Regions from separate parts of the Homo sapiens genome. Here all the other regions are linked to region 1. The links are contacts of gene promoters, found by promoter capture Hi-C in blood cells and fetal thymus (Javierre and others, 2016). All regions are on one chromosome and are shown on one strand. Each heading gives the region's core, a stretch centred on a gene start or on the middle of the fragment in contact. The rest is flanking DNA. Distances are from core to core; before and after follow the strand shown.

Region 1 (4,466 bases), core at 204-2,703:
TCTTCACCAAAAGAAGTTTCATGTAACAATATGTACTCTTGTACATATGTATCTATATAAGATATGTATCTATATAAGATAGTTCCATTTATTTTCTATTTAAATCTGGTCTAGTCTATTTCATTCCTGTAAAATGCTGTCTCTACCCTTTGAATCGATGTCATGGCCTATTAGTGGATCCTGATCCTTAATTTTAAAGACAATGCAGTAAATCAATCTCAGGTTTTTGTTGGTGCGGGGACCTGACTTATGGTGAATGTGAATAACATCACAGTTGTTCATTTTTGGTGATCTCATGTTTGGTCCCACTCTTCCACAGCTTTCTCTAGGGTCCCTCCTTCGCTTTCCAGATTTTAAACTCTCCTCAGATTACTTAACAGTCTCCAGATCCTAATTTTTTATTCCAACAAAAAGAAAATCAATTTGCAAAATATAATACCAATTTATTAATTCACTGAGATTTTTAATGAACCAATAGGGTTGTTTCAATCACCTCCTACTAAGATTTAAGAAAATGAAAATATGACTACAGGGTTGCATGGTAAACACAGAAACCAAAAAACACGTAGTGATGGTCTATAGTGGCTTAGTCGCCTTTCTCCTGTACAACTGAATAATCTACTTTTGTCCTCAAAGATCAATTCCTGCCCTCCCAGTATTGAAGAGCACTAACAAAATTGGTACTCTTCAGCCCTCCTTTTCTTGAAACCCAGACGGGGGGTAGGAAGATGGGGTGGTGTTAATTTAATCCTAACACCTGAAATTACTTCCCGGGCTTGCCGTAATTTTCTCAAATACAATTATGTGACGGTATCAAGATCACTTTCATCCATCAGAAAGGAGATAATAGTTTTAGGTTGGATTTTGTAAATATTCAGCAACATGAACACAACACCTTTTCTTATTCAGTGTGCGATTTTACTTTTGGCCCTTATTCTAGGGTGGGCCAAAGAACCAAGCAAAGAAGGCTCCGCTTCCACCTTTATTCCTATCACATACTACCTGGAAACACTCAGCCTTTTCTGGATAGGCCCAAGGTGGTTATTCACAAACCTCGGGTCTTTTGATCACTTTCTGGGATCTTAACAGTTGTGGAGATTATACTGAATGATCCCAAGTCCAGTCTGACATAACAAAAAATGTCCACCTTTCAGCTGGGTGGGCGCGGGGGAAGAAGGAAGAGCTTAGAATTTAAGTCCAAAGATGTGGAAACACCAGGCTCTTCCCCGTCCAGGCAGCTCATCAGAGCCTCGTTAGCTGCCTTAAAAGCCCATTTTATTTCCGCAGCGGGCCCGCTGGTGAAGGCAGAAGGCTCAGTCCGTCCGCCTCCACCTGCTGCCACGGCAGCGCGAACCGACCCCACGCAGCGATGGCCACGAGCTGCCCAAGACCGGCTCGCCGCGCCCAGGCCCGCGTTGGTCGCCCCTCCGGGCCCCAGCGCCGGGTGCTCCGCCTCCCAAGGCCGGCGGCGGCATGGCGGCCAGGCAGATCTGGGCACGGACGGGTGCCGCGCTCTGCAGGCAACCTTCCGCCGCCCCGCCGCCAGCACCTCTCTGGGTAAGAGCTGGGTTCCGACAGCAGCTCAGCTTAACCCTCTGCCCTGCTAACGAGGGAAACTGCGGCGGCTCCGCGCCCAGCACGCCCGGTAGGCCGGAGAGAGCGGCGAGGCCTTCGGTGAGCGAAGAGTTAACCGCGGCGGAGCGACAGATCGCGGAGCTGCACGCTGCCGCCTGCGCGGTGAGACTCCCTCCTGCCCGCCCCGCCCCGCCGCGGCCGCCCCGGGCTCGGCGCGCCTGCGCATCCCGGGCCTCTCCGGACCCGGAGGCCGCCCGGCAGAGGCAAAGGTTGCTGGATACCGGTGCGGTCCTGCCTCGGGCGACATTCGCGCACGCACACGAACTTCCAGCCCCGACATTTTCGCGGGAAACCTGTGTCTGTCTTGAGTATGAGTGTGATTTGTTTTCCGATCAGCGTCCGAGCTAAACTCCGGTCGCAGTGTGGGACCCACTACCACTCTTTTGTGGTGTATGTGTGTGTGTGTTGCGGAAGGGGGTGTTAAGGAATTGATGGAGAAGGTGGAGGGACTGAGAAGTCACAACAAAAATGTGTTGTGTGTTTTTCTGCATTGTCAGTTGAACACTTAGCAATCCAGTGATTCTTAGAGTGAGAAAAAAAGACATTGACACATTTATTTTAATTTTTCCATTGCCTTCTTGTCCTTTCTCTTAACTCTTAACGGAGCAGAGGGAACTACAATCTGGCATTTGTAGACACTCAGCTGTTTTCTCCTGTTTTGCGGATTTGACAATTGTCTGTTAGTACCAGTATCTAAACTTCTCTCCCTTTACGCCTTCTAACACAGTCTGCGTGAGTTTAAAGGCAGCATGGTTACCTTTACAAAAGAAACAGTGAGAAAAAAAGAGAAACTGACTATAATAAAGATAGAAAAGCAGTATGAAATGAACCCATTTAATAAGCTATGTGTGTGTGCCTCCAGTACTTGATGGGACTAATATTATATGGTATGACTTGAGCCAAAGGGGTAGAGAAGAAAATCCCGGAGGTTGCCTAAAATTGACTTATTTAAATAATGACAGTTAGTAGGCCCTGAGAATCCACTGTCGGTCTGACCCATTCAAGTGCTGAAACTGAATAAAGACTCATTAGGAAGTGACTGGCAGCTTTTGATTGTTCTTGTTTATGCTCTCCTTTTAAAAATAATGTATATAATTTGTTCTCATACTTCGCAATATAGATATGGTGGATATTAAAGAAAAGTGTCATTCTCCTTAGAGCAAACACCAGTATCATGTGAAGAAATTTTCAATCAGTCTAGGGAAGGAAAGGAACTTTTTCTCACTCGGGAAATTCACATTTGTTTCATCAGTGTCAGTATCACAGGTTAAATGACTATCCAGGTGACCATAAGTAAGCCCAGTAAATAACAAGCTGCTTGTTTTTCTTTTTCGACAAATCTGAGCCCCCTCACTATGGTCCTTCTTCCAGCCTCAAAGCAGATAGCTCTCTTACCTTTCTCCGGGTACCGATGCGCATCACTGAGCATCTTGCTCTCCAGTCAAACTGTCAGCACCCTTGCTTCATCTTTGTCTGTGGCCACCATTACGTGAGGCTCATTTACTGAGGACAAATTAAGTTTGTGTGGGCAGCCAGCAAGCTCAGAGGTGCTCAATCAACATGGAAAGCTGTAGAGCAGGGGCATGCGCAGGAGCAATCTGTTAGGCTTCCAGGTTGCCAGATAATTGCCCTCAGAAGACTCCCAGAAGCTATGAAAAGTAAAAAGAAGCCTGCTACAGAGTTCCTAGTGTTTTTTTGTTTTTCTTCCAAGTCTCCAAACACGAGCTTCGTAAATAAATAAAGAAGTGAGGCCCTGACAATCGGTCATTCTAAGGTAGTGCTGAGTGCTCCTGATTTCATGTAATCTGCTTCTGTGGTCTCCCTGGACTTGGGAAGTCTCTCTCAGACCAGCCTTGGGACTTGCTCGGATTTCTGCTGCCCTGTCCTGCTCTAGCTTTGCTGGGATGCCTTAGAGTGAGGCTAGATTTCAACTGTACCCGTCCTTTTGCTACACACTTTTCTCATGAAACATATTGGGTTAAAACCTCAACCAGAATAAAATATTCTGCCATTAAATGAGACACTGAAGAAGTTGTTGGTGGTTCATACAAAAATGTGTTTGTCAGAAGACATGCAAGTTTCATGTGTATTTTAATGAAAAAAACTCTGTACAAGATTGATGCACTGAGTTACTGCGTGGTAAAAAGGTTATACAAAAAGTCCATGGGAGTTCCTCTACAAAAACCCAAGGCTAAGTAATATCACCCCAAAGACCCAAATCCACAGAAAAGATTATGTTATTTACTTTTCCCTTCCCACAAAGTACTTGAGACACCGTTTTAAGTCATGTTTGAATGTAGATAGAATATACTTCCTTGACATTTGAAATAGTACAATAAAAGTTTCTTTTGATCAAACTTGTGAAAGCTGTGAGTGTTAATATGTTAAAACAATACTTTTTTCACTTAAAAATACAACTAATAACACACCAGCAAAAAAAAAAATAGTATAAAATGTGCAATGAAGTAACACATGAAGGTAAAGAAAGTGTTCAATAATAGCAAAGGTAATACTTTTCTATAAGGACCGTTGGTTTTGATTAGCGCCTTTTCTGTAAGTTTAAATCATTATCCACATATTTTAAGTACTGAAATTCCAACTGCAACTTCTGAGTGAAAGTTCATTTTCAGCCTCTTAAGCTCTTAAAATCATTTAAATCACCTGTTATTAAGCTTGTTACCTAGAAACCAAATGAAAAATATCAGAGCAGTGGCTACATAGTTATTAGGTACAGAGGAGTTCTTGTTTTTCCATCAACTTCTCATTTTTCTCAAACTGTATATTTTCTCCTTATGTCACATAAAGTTGGATTGTGTATAATGCTGGAGTGC
Region 2 (4,531 bases), core at 1,343-3,842, 560 kb after region 1:
CCCCCAATTGCTGACTCAGAAATGCATCATGATTTTGCCCTTGGGTGGTGCACTGATGGTATTCTTACTTCCAGTGTAAGTTGCAGAGTGAGCAAAAAAGAATCTAGAAAAAAAATGCTTTTTTGCAATAATAAAATATGTCACTGAATGCATGGGTGTCAGAACACTCCCACATATTTTTAGTTCTTATCCAGTTGTCCCTAATGAGGAACAAGTAAACAGAATTAGAATTCAAAAGATCTGGATTTGGTATGACCTCTGCAATTCTACCAGATGGTACAACTCCAAGGGACACCATTCGCATAGAACACAATGTACAGGGAATACATTTTGCAGTACAGGCCCTGAGGCCACTGTTCCTCTGCCACTGCCACAACTGTGGAAGCAATGGTTCTGAACCTTCATTTCATCATCTGGAAATATGTGAACTGAGTTTGTCTTGTTCATATTCATTAAGTATAATGGGCCATGTTGGCTCATGAAGAAAGAGTAATCACTCTTGGAAGCTTTACAATTCTCCTTTTCATTATGTTTCTTCCCTGTCTCTGGTGCAGTTTTAGGTTCATAGCAAAATTGAGAGAAATGTGCAGAGATTTCCCATGTGCCTGTTACCCACACACAAGCATAGCCTTCAGCATTATCTCCCATCAGAGTGACACATTTGTTATAATTTATGAACTACATTGACACACCTTTATCACGAAAAGTCCATAATATGTGTAAGAGTTTATCTTGGTGTTGACTATTCTATGAGTTTGGACAAATACATAATGACAGGTATCCACCGTTGTAGTATCATACACAATAGTTTCACTGCCCTAAAATCCTCTGTGCTCTGCCTATTCATTCCCTCCCTGCCCCAATCCCTGACAACTACTGATCTTTTTGTCGTCCATAGTTTGCTTTTTCTACAGAATGTCATATAGTAGGAATCATACATAGCCTTTTCAGATAGGCTCCTATCACTTAGTAATGTATTTCAGTTTCTTCTATGTCTTTTTATGGCTTGATAGCTCACTTCTTTTTAGTGCAGAGTAATATTCCATTGTCTGGATGTATTTTTTGAAAAATAGTATGTTAATTTTATTCAAAATGACAATTTTTGACTCAGATTTTTTTAGAACAGCTTTATATTTGCAGAAAAAATGTAAAGATAGTACAGGAAGGTCTCATATATCTCATACTCTGTGTCTCCTATTATCAACATCATATATTGGTATGGTACATTTGTCACAATTAATGAATGAATATTGCTACATTATTAAGTAAAGTCCTTGTTTTATTCAGATTTCCTTGGTTTTTAACTTACTGCTTTTTTTCTTTTCTGGGATCCTATCCAGATTGTCATATATAGGTTAACTGTCATGTTTTCTTAGGTTCCACTTGACTGTGACAATTTTTGATGACTATGAAAATTTTGAGATGTAGTTGCATTTAAAAAAATAAGTATATTTAAATCTGTTTTTTTTTTTTACATAGTAATGGGGTCTTGATGTACTGCCTTAGACTGGCCTCAAACTCCTGAGCTTAAGCAATCCTCCTGCCTCACCCTTCTGAGTAGCTAGGACCAAAGGCATGTGCCATCATGCCTAGCTAAGGAGTACTGGTATCTTGTCCAATGTACCTCAGTTGGGATTTGCCTGATATCATGGTTAGGTTGGGTTTATGAGTTTTGGGGAGGAAGACCATAGCCATAAAGTACAATCAAAATGACTTATCACTATTAATGTTAACCTTGATCACCTGGCTGAGGTGTGTTTGTCAAGTTTGTCTATGGTAAAGTTATTCCTCCCCACTTTTTCTGAATTGTGCCGTTTAGAAGGAAGTCACCGTATGACTTACATGGAGTGAGGAGTTATGCTCCACCTTCTTGGGTGGGGTGACTTTTCTGCATAATTTGGGATTCTTTGGACAAAAGATGTGTCTAATCTCCCCCCATTTTCTTATTTAATCAATTGTTTTTATTAGCAGGAACTCCTGAATATTTATTTTAGACTTTGGATTTCATAAAGTTTTTAGGTTATGGAAAACTCCCTTGATTTTATTTAGATCTCTTATCTTACCAGCTCAGCTCTTGCCACTTCTTACCACATACTCAAAATTCTAGGCACAGGAAACACTTCTCTGTTTGCAGACATGCCACTCAGACATCTCTCTGTCTTCACACACTATTTCTTCACCTGGAATTCCCTTTTCCATATACTGTAGTTGAATTCATGTCAGTTCTTTGAGATCTAGCTCATATAACTGCCTGGAAATTAGACTTTATTTTCCCTTCCTTGGAAGTTTATGTATATACCTTTATAGTAGTATTTATCACATTATCTAATATTTGTTTGCTTGTTTATCTTCCTCACTATATTGTGAAGTCATTGTGATACAGGCTATTCCTTACTCTATTCTCCAGTAGCTAGCTCTCTGCCTAAGCAAGTTCTTGACAATATACAATATTTGAATGGATGGACAAGAAATAGAATTTCGCTAGTTAATGAAGCTGATTTTAGAAGGACTCTCTTGAGTCCTTTCTTTAGAAAAATGACATCGTGGTTCTGCTGTTAATACAATATACAATTTGAGTTGTTTTTATCTTCTTATAATGATGTGTTTATTCTGATCATGTAGACTTCCATATGCAGTAATCTTTTAAGATCAGGCATTTGTGAGATGGCTGTCCAGAGTGAAGAATGCAGTTCCTAGCCAAAGAGCAGCCTTTCCCTCTGTGAGGAGAACATATCCCCCAAGGCAGGAATGGAAACCAGAGTGACCTTGGCCTCATTAGTAGACTGCCTTAACCAGCTGAGCTAACCAGCCAGACTACAAAGATGGCAGGAAAGAAATCTAACAAACATAGACATTCACTTTGTAACATATAAAGTACAGTCTGTATTGACACACACAAACTGGCTTGACTGTTTTGACTGTCAAGTAGTCAAGAAAATATTTAAGTCAGTCAAAAAGCAGTCAAGTTGCCCAACAAGCATGTCTGACTTTCTTTTTTTCTCTGACTAGATTTTGAGTGCTGATTTGACTGGTTTGTGTTTGTAGAAACAGTCACATTTTCCTTGCCAAAAGAGAATGCTTTTTTTCACTGAGACTTAATGAAATAACTGTTACATCATATAAATTCATTTCCTTAAGCATATGTGTCAGACTATCAAATCAGTTAAGGAAAAGTCTCATCTTTTTTTCTCTTTGAAATTATGGATGGGCTAGTTTGGTTCCAAATTAAGTGAATTCATAGTGCCATCTAGTGCTTCAAAACAGAATTATCGGAGCAACTGTGGAGATACCTTAAATCAGGCATTGGCTTTAACACATTATCTTCAATTCTATGTTTAAAAGAGTCACCTAGCTGATCCAGGCTAGCATTTTCTTTTTTGGATTATTACAAGTTGATTGGGTATTGAAGTTTTATCACATTTACTGATGTGAGAAGTCATTGATTAAAGTATAGCTTGAAAAGAACCCCCAAAACATAACCAAAAACATATATCCCTTTTATTTTTAAGAGTATTAAGGATGAAACTAACCCACAAATAAAACCAAACGGTGCTTCATAAGATAGATGATGAAAATCACAACCATATATAAATTAAATCTCCTCCCACCCAAACAAGATGAAGTAAAACAGAGGATCGATGTGATTTTATTTCATGTGCTTTTGAAATATACGTTCTCAGAGAGGCTTTAGAACCGAGATACAAAGAGGAAAATGTTCACTGAAGAGAATAAACAACACATAGATGAGAGAATTGTTTCCACCTCAAGTAAACAAACAAACCTCTATTTTCCAAACAGTTTCTGCCTTGATTGCCGTCCATTCCTTTATAAAATGGTGGCAATATTTTCAGAACTTTATGTAAAATTTATGAGGGAAACAGGCATAGTTAAGACACTCTTGATTTGGAACCATTGCTGATCAAGGGACAAAATGTGACATATTTACATATTTTTCTTCAGAATTGAAATAGAATAATGTTTTCTATTTCTCTGCACATTAAAATTTTAAAAGCCCTTGCATGTGTTATTTCATCTCCCAACCACACTGTGCAGTATCATTAGCCTCATTTTAGAGTGGGTAGCCGAATTAGCATTCAAACCCTGTCTCATACCCTCCAATGCACTGACAAAGCTACATGTGCCTTTGCCTTTTTTTTTCCTTAGGGGTTTTTGAGAGCTTAGATCTGAAACAGTAAGAAGAGGAGTAGGGTTAGGAAGTGAGTGTAAGGGGAGGAAGAATTAAATGCATACATAGGGAGAGAGGGTCACTCACACTGCCTGCAAGAGAGGCAAGCAGGGAAAGCCTTATGCAAAGTTTCATACAGAGCGTCATCACCCATGGTGTCAGAGTTATCTAGAGAATGGGACAATAATTACGACTGTTGTAAACAATCCAGCCTTAATGAAATATCCTTAAATACAATATTCAGAAGTATCAAACACTAAATGAGAATTCCTAAAGAGTGGATGAAAATTCAGTACAGAGATCCATTAACGTATTGAGTAGCTTTATATCAATTGCTGCTAGTCA
Region 3 (4,663 bases), core at 1,359-3,858, 790 kb after region 1:
TAATACAGGAAATAGGGTAGAGTACAAGGCTGTCTACATACATAAAACAACTTAGGTAACTACATCAGTTCATTTGTTTTGCATTGGACAAGCACAGTAATATTTAACCATATACTCCAGTCTAAATGGATAGGTCATGAAGTAGTTAAATATGTTATACAACCAATCTTTTGTTGTTGTTGTTGTTGTTGTTGTTTTTGAGTCAGGGTCTCACCCTGTCACCCAGGCTGGAGTACAGTGGCACCATCACATCTCACTACAGCCTCAACACACACTCATGGGCGTAGCCTCCCAAGTAGCTGGGACTATAGGTGTGCACCACCCTACCCGGATAATTTTTGTATTTTAAGTAGAGACGAGGTTTTGCATGTTTCCCAGACTGGATTGCTTGGTTCAAGCGATCCAGCTGCCTCTCCCTCCCAAAGTTCTGGGATTACAGGTGTGAACCATTGCACCTGGCCACAACCAATCTCATCAGGTCTTTTTTTTCTATCAGTGAAGATTCAGCACAGTGGCTTCTATCTATGATTTTGGTAATGTTTAATAATGTTTGCACATATGAAGTGCAACAGACAATTGAAGTCATTGCTCATGTAATTTAGGAAGAATTAAAATATGATAGAGAATTAATAAATTATTGCAGATATTTGGTTTTATAGTTTTCTCTAAATAGTTAAGTACCTTCACCTACTCCCTACCTTGTTTCATATATAAAGGCATTCTCCACCAAAGTATTTGTTAGTGTTCTGCTAACGTTGATGTAAAAATCATTAGATGACTGGGGGGGCGGGGTGTGGGGAATGTCCTTTAGATGTTACGTAGGTGTTTTAACTAAGCTATTTTATATAGGTCACATTTAGCGTGTTCCTACTTTAAGACTGGTAAAATGTTTAACATTAAAAAGACTGAAAAATAGATTTATGTAATCTAGTGCACATGGCTTATTAAAATTGATATGTTGCTTTAAGTTGCATCACTCTAGTGCATACCTTATTTCCTTAGGGGCATTGGCTTAAATTTTAAAGTAGTTTTTAATTTAAAATTTTTATTTTAAATAGATTCTATGTGTTTTTTTCAGGCACGAAAACATTTTTATGTCATTTATCATGTTGACTAAAAGTGTTACCAAAACTAAAAATCTGTTTATAGGGATTTTATGACCATGAGAACAAGCAAGTTGAGTCTTACACTAAGTCTAAACAGTGATGCTGAAGTCTTGGAATTTTCTTTTAAAAAGATAAAATGGTGTGTGGGGTGTGTGTGTGTGTGTGTGTCTGTGTGTGTGTGCACGCACATATTTGAAATAGTATATAAAAATGAAATAAAACATAGATTACAATGTTTTAGTGTCACCTAAAAATCACTCAGTGGAGGAATTTAGAATCATATCCAGTGATAAATCAGTGTACAAGCAAACACATATTCAATTCAAGAGGCCTTTATGGGAAGTAAGCATGAACATAGAAGAAAGGAAAATGTTGGCTCTTTAGATATTATACTGTTTTCCAGGATATTAAATTTTGCTGCATTAAAGATGAAAAGATTCGAGGAAATTTTGAATATGGAGCGATGATGAGATCAGAAAAAAATGTATATGTATGCCCATTATTCTGTCCTCTAGCTCCAGAAACCTCTTAACATCTAAACAAAAGGTCTGTAAATTTTAATAATTGTGCTTGATATTAGTGTAGTTTGGTTGACTTTCCTGTCAAAATAGTATTCTGTAATAAATTAACTTGACACACCTCTAAATTTTCTCTAATATTTGTTTGTACCATTATAGAGCATTCACTCAGCACATTGTGATTTAATCTGCATATCTATTTTTAGGGTCAAGGTTATTTTAGCATTTGTAGCACTACTAGTAATTTACTTGCAGCCAAATTATGATTAAGATGCATTTTTACTTAGCTCATGAGTTTTTAATAAACACCTTCTGTAAAAGAATTCTCATGCTTAAAATTTCATATGAAGAGGAAAGGCTGTAAGGACAAGTTGATGGGAAAAGGGGACGCCTGATGAATGAGAGCATGGCCTGTAAAGTCAGACAGGCTCAGGTTCAAGTCTGGCTCACATATACTAGACTGGCCTTGTGAACTTGGCCAAGACACTTGACTTTTCTAAGCTTCTTAGGGTTTTTGTGGTGCTTAAGAAAGAAAACATAAGCAAAAGACTTAGTATAGTGCCTGGCACCCAGTAAACACTCAATAAATATTAACAATTAATAACAATAAAATATTATTTCTAAATTATTCTTTAAAAAAGTAAATCATTAGAAACAGTCTTCTCCGTTTTGGTAATTTACCTCTTGTCCTTCTTTTCAGAAGTTAGATTAAAATAATATACATCATGTATTTCTTTTAAAAAACGTATTGCCTTTGGACCACTTGGAAGTTTATTAATCTCTCTGAGACATGGAACATATACGTAGTCTGATGAATAGTGTACTGGTTGGAAACAGTTCTAGTATATTTACTCAGGCATTCACAGTTCTTTTGTTAAAAAACAAATAGCTTCACATAGTGTCCCAGCATTTTTCTTCTCATTTCTGTGGTAAACAGATGATGAATTATAATTTTCTTTTATGAAACTCTATCTATAGTTGGTGCTACACATTTTGGTGACAACAAAGTAGTAAATCAGAACAACAGAATATAGGGGTCTGTGGAATTAGTGGTGCAGGTAACATTAAGATTTCTCTTTTCTCTGTCATCAAATTTGCTTTCTGATTTCTCCTCTGTATTAACTGATCCAATGGCTTCCGTCATTCTGAGGAAAAAGTTCAAGCTCCTTTTCAAGGCCTACAGTGCTTGCTCCTTGGCTCTTCTCCTAAAGCTGTTATCATCAGATCTGTTTGATTTCTCCTTTGCACTTACTCATGCTTAAAAGAATCCAGCAATTACTTATCAATCACTTCTTATACACAAGACTCTTTGCTACAGCTATTTCTCTTTCTTCTCCTCCTCTTCCTCATCTTATTATGTGATTCATGCTGATGTTGATGCGAGAAATTTTGATTATTAGTCTTAATCAGGTGTATCCATGACTAAAATGTCATTGCAGATGACTAGATATATGTGTTTTATGGGTTATAAGCTTATCCAGGGCAAGGGTCATGCTTTTATCATGTTTGAACCTAGTCTCCAACAGCATACCAGCAAAACAATGTATGTTTCTTGAACCTAAGTGAACTAAATTAACTTGTTTCAAGTTCCAAGGAATGAGGTGCTTGCATGAGAAGGGGCATATCAACCTAATTTTAGATATGTAAGAGCTCATGTATTTCTCAGATAAAGAAGAGATATGTGTTGTATAAAGTATGTTCACACACTCAAAAACAATTTGAATATTTTAAATTTGGTGATATGTTTTGTTCTTCACAAACAATGAAGGACACTTTTCCTTTCACTTCAAACATGAGAGCTATTAGTTATTGCTATACTAATATTTTTTTCTTATTACCTCTTTTGCAAATCAACACAATTCTAAGACTGTAATTTACAAGGAAATAAGAACAAATAAGGAGAGCGGAATGCTGTTAATGGGAACATAAACATAACAATAGTTTACATGAAACAGAAAGATAAAAGCTAACTAGATAAGAAAAGGGACAAAAGTACAAACAATATCAATTAAAAACAATATTTAAGTATGAATTATTAAGAAAAAGAGAAATGTAATGAGAAAACAAGAAAGTCATTATGTTAATAATTATGTATCACCCATCAATGATATAAAAATATATATATCAAAAATGCATTTTACTTCAAGGAATAAGCCAGGGAATGTCATTGAAGAATACGGGGTGATGCTCCTTGGATGGCAACTCTGAAGGAAGAAAATGTTTTCACATCAGTTTGTTCTCAGAAGATAAAATATAAAGGCAGAAAGTCACCTTAAGTACCAGCTAATTCACTTTCCCATCTGATCTCTGATTCTCTTTAACAACCTGAGTTTACAGTCATTTGGAAAAGAACTTTACAATCTTTTAAATAGGCATTTACTAAGATGAGGGATGAAAACATTGCACTTCACTGTAGACTGAATCTAGTTCCCATCATGCCAAGAAAGCTGCTCTTTTCAACATTTCCACAAACCCAGATGATAAATCCAGTTGACCCATGTTAATGCACCATGTTTATCCTGCATGTGAATCCCCATATTATTTGACTTCAACCATTTCCTTCTCGAAACACCCTCTACTCTTTATTCTTGTTTGCTACAGTTTTCCTCTTACTTGGAAAATTTGATTACCTATGCTGGCTCTCTCCTTAATATTCACTGAACTTCAGGATTCTATCCTGGACACTTCTCTTTTATGTAGTTCGGTGATCTCCTTCACCTCTGTAGCTGCAAAATGTATCTATATGCTGATCTATAGCATCAGCCCAGATGTATGTCATGAGCTACAAACCTCTATATTCAAATGCTATTATACATTTTCACATGAAATCTCAAGCAAATTCTGATTCACCTCTCTACTCACTGTTTATTACTCTCAAGTTCAGTGAAACTATAACTCACTAGCATGTTAAACTATCAATCTAGATATTTTCCTTATTACTCTTTCTCCTTTATTCTCACTTGAAAGGATTTACAAAGTCTTGGTGATTCTTGAGTGTTTCATAGGTCCTTTTCCCCCAACCTTTCTTTTGGGGTATAC

Evidence for each region. Contacts are between HindIII fragments. The CHiCAGO score rates a contact against its expected background, and 5 or more counts as called.
Region 2: a contact is called between a fragment that was not itself captured here and the fragment with the promoter of C1orf53 in region 1, in 2 of 17 cell types (M2 macrophages and endothelial precursors). The highest score is 6.7, in M2 macrophages.
Region 3: a contact is called between a fragment that was not itself captured here and the fragment with the promoter of C1orf53 in region 1, in 1 of 17 cell types (endothelial precursors). The highest score is 6.1, in endothelial precursors.

What each region holds. Positions count from the first base shown.
Region 1 is chr1:197,901,177-197,905,642 of GRCh38, forward strand. C1orf53 (chromosome 1 open reading frame 53) reads left to right here and starts at 1,454. Exons shown (of 3, transcript NM_001024594.3): 1 at 1,454-1,737. The coding sequence starts at 1,474. RefSeq lists silencers at 1,339-1,488, 1,659-1,908. The HindIII fragment of the contact is 7,446 bases long and covers 1-4,305 here.
Region 2 is chr1:198,462,507-198,467,037 of GRCh38, forward strand. All of the region lies in intron 1 of LOC105371677 (a long non-coding RNA gene), which reads right to left. Among named protein-coding and RNA genes, the nearest start is that of ATP6V1G3, 76 kb to the right of the region's middle. The HindIII fragment of the contact is 4,177 bases long and covers 505-4,531 here.
Region 3 is chr1:198,686,825-198,691,487 of GRCh38, forward strand. The region is part of intron 2 of PTPRC (protein tyrosine phosphatase receptor type C); the gene reads left to right. Among named protein-coding and RNA genes, the nearest start is that of PTPRC-AS1, 22 kb to the left of the region's middle. The HindIII fragment of the contact is 971 bases long and covers 2,124-3,094 here.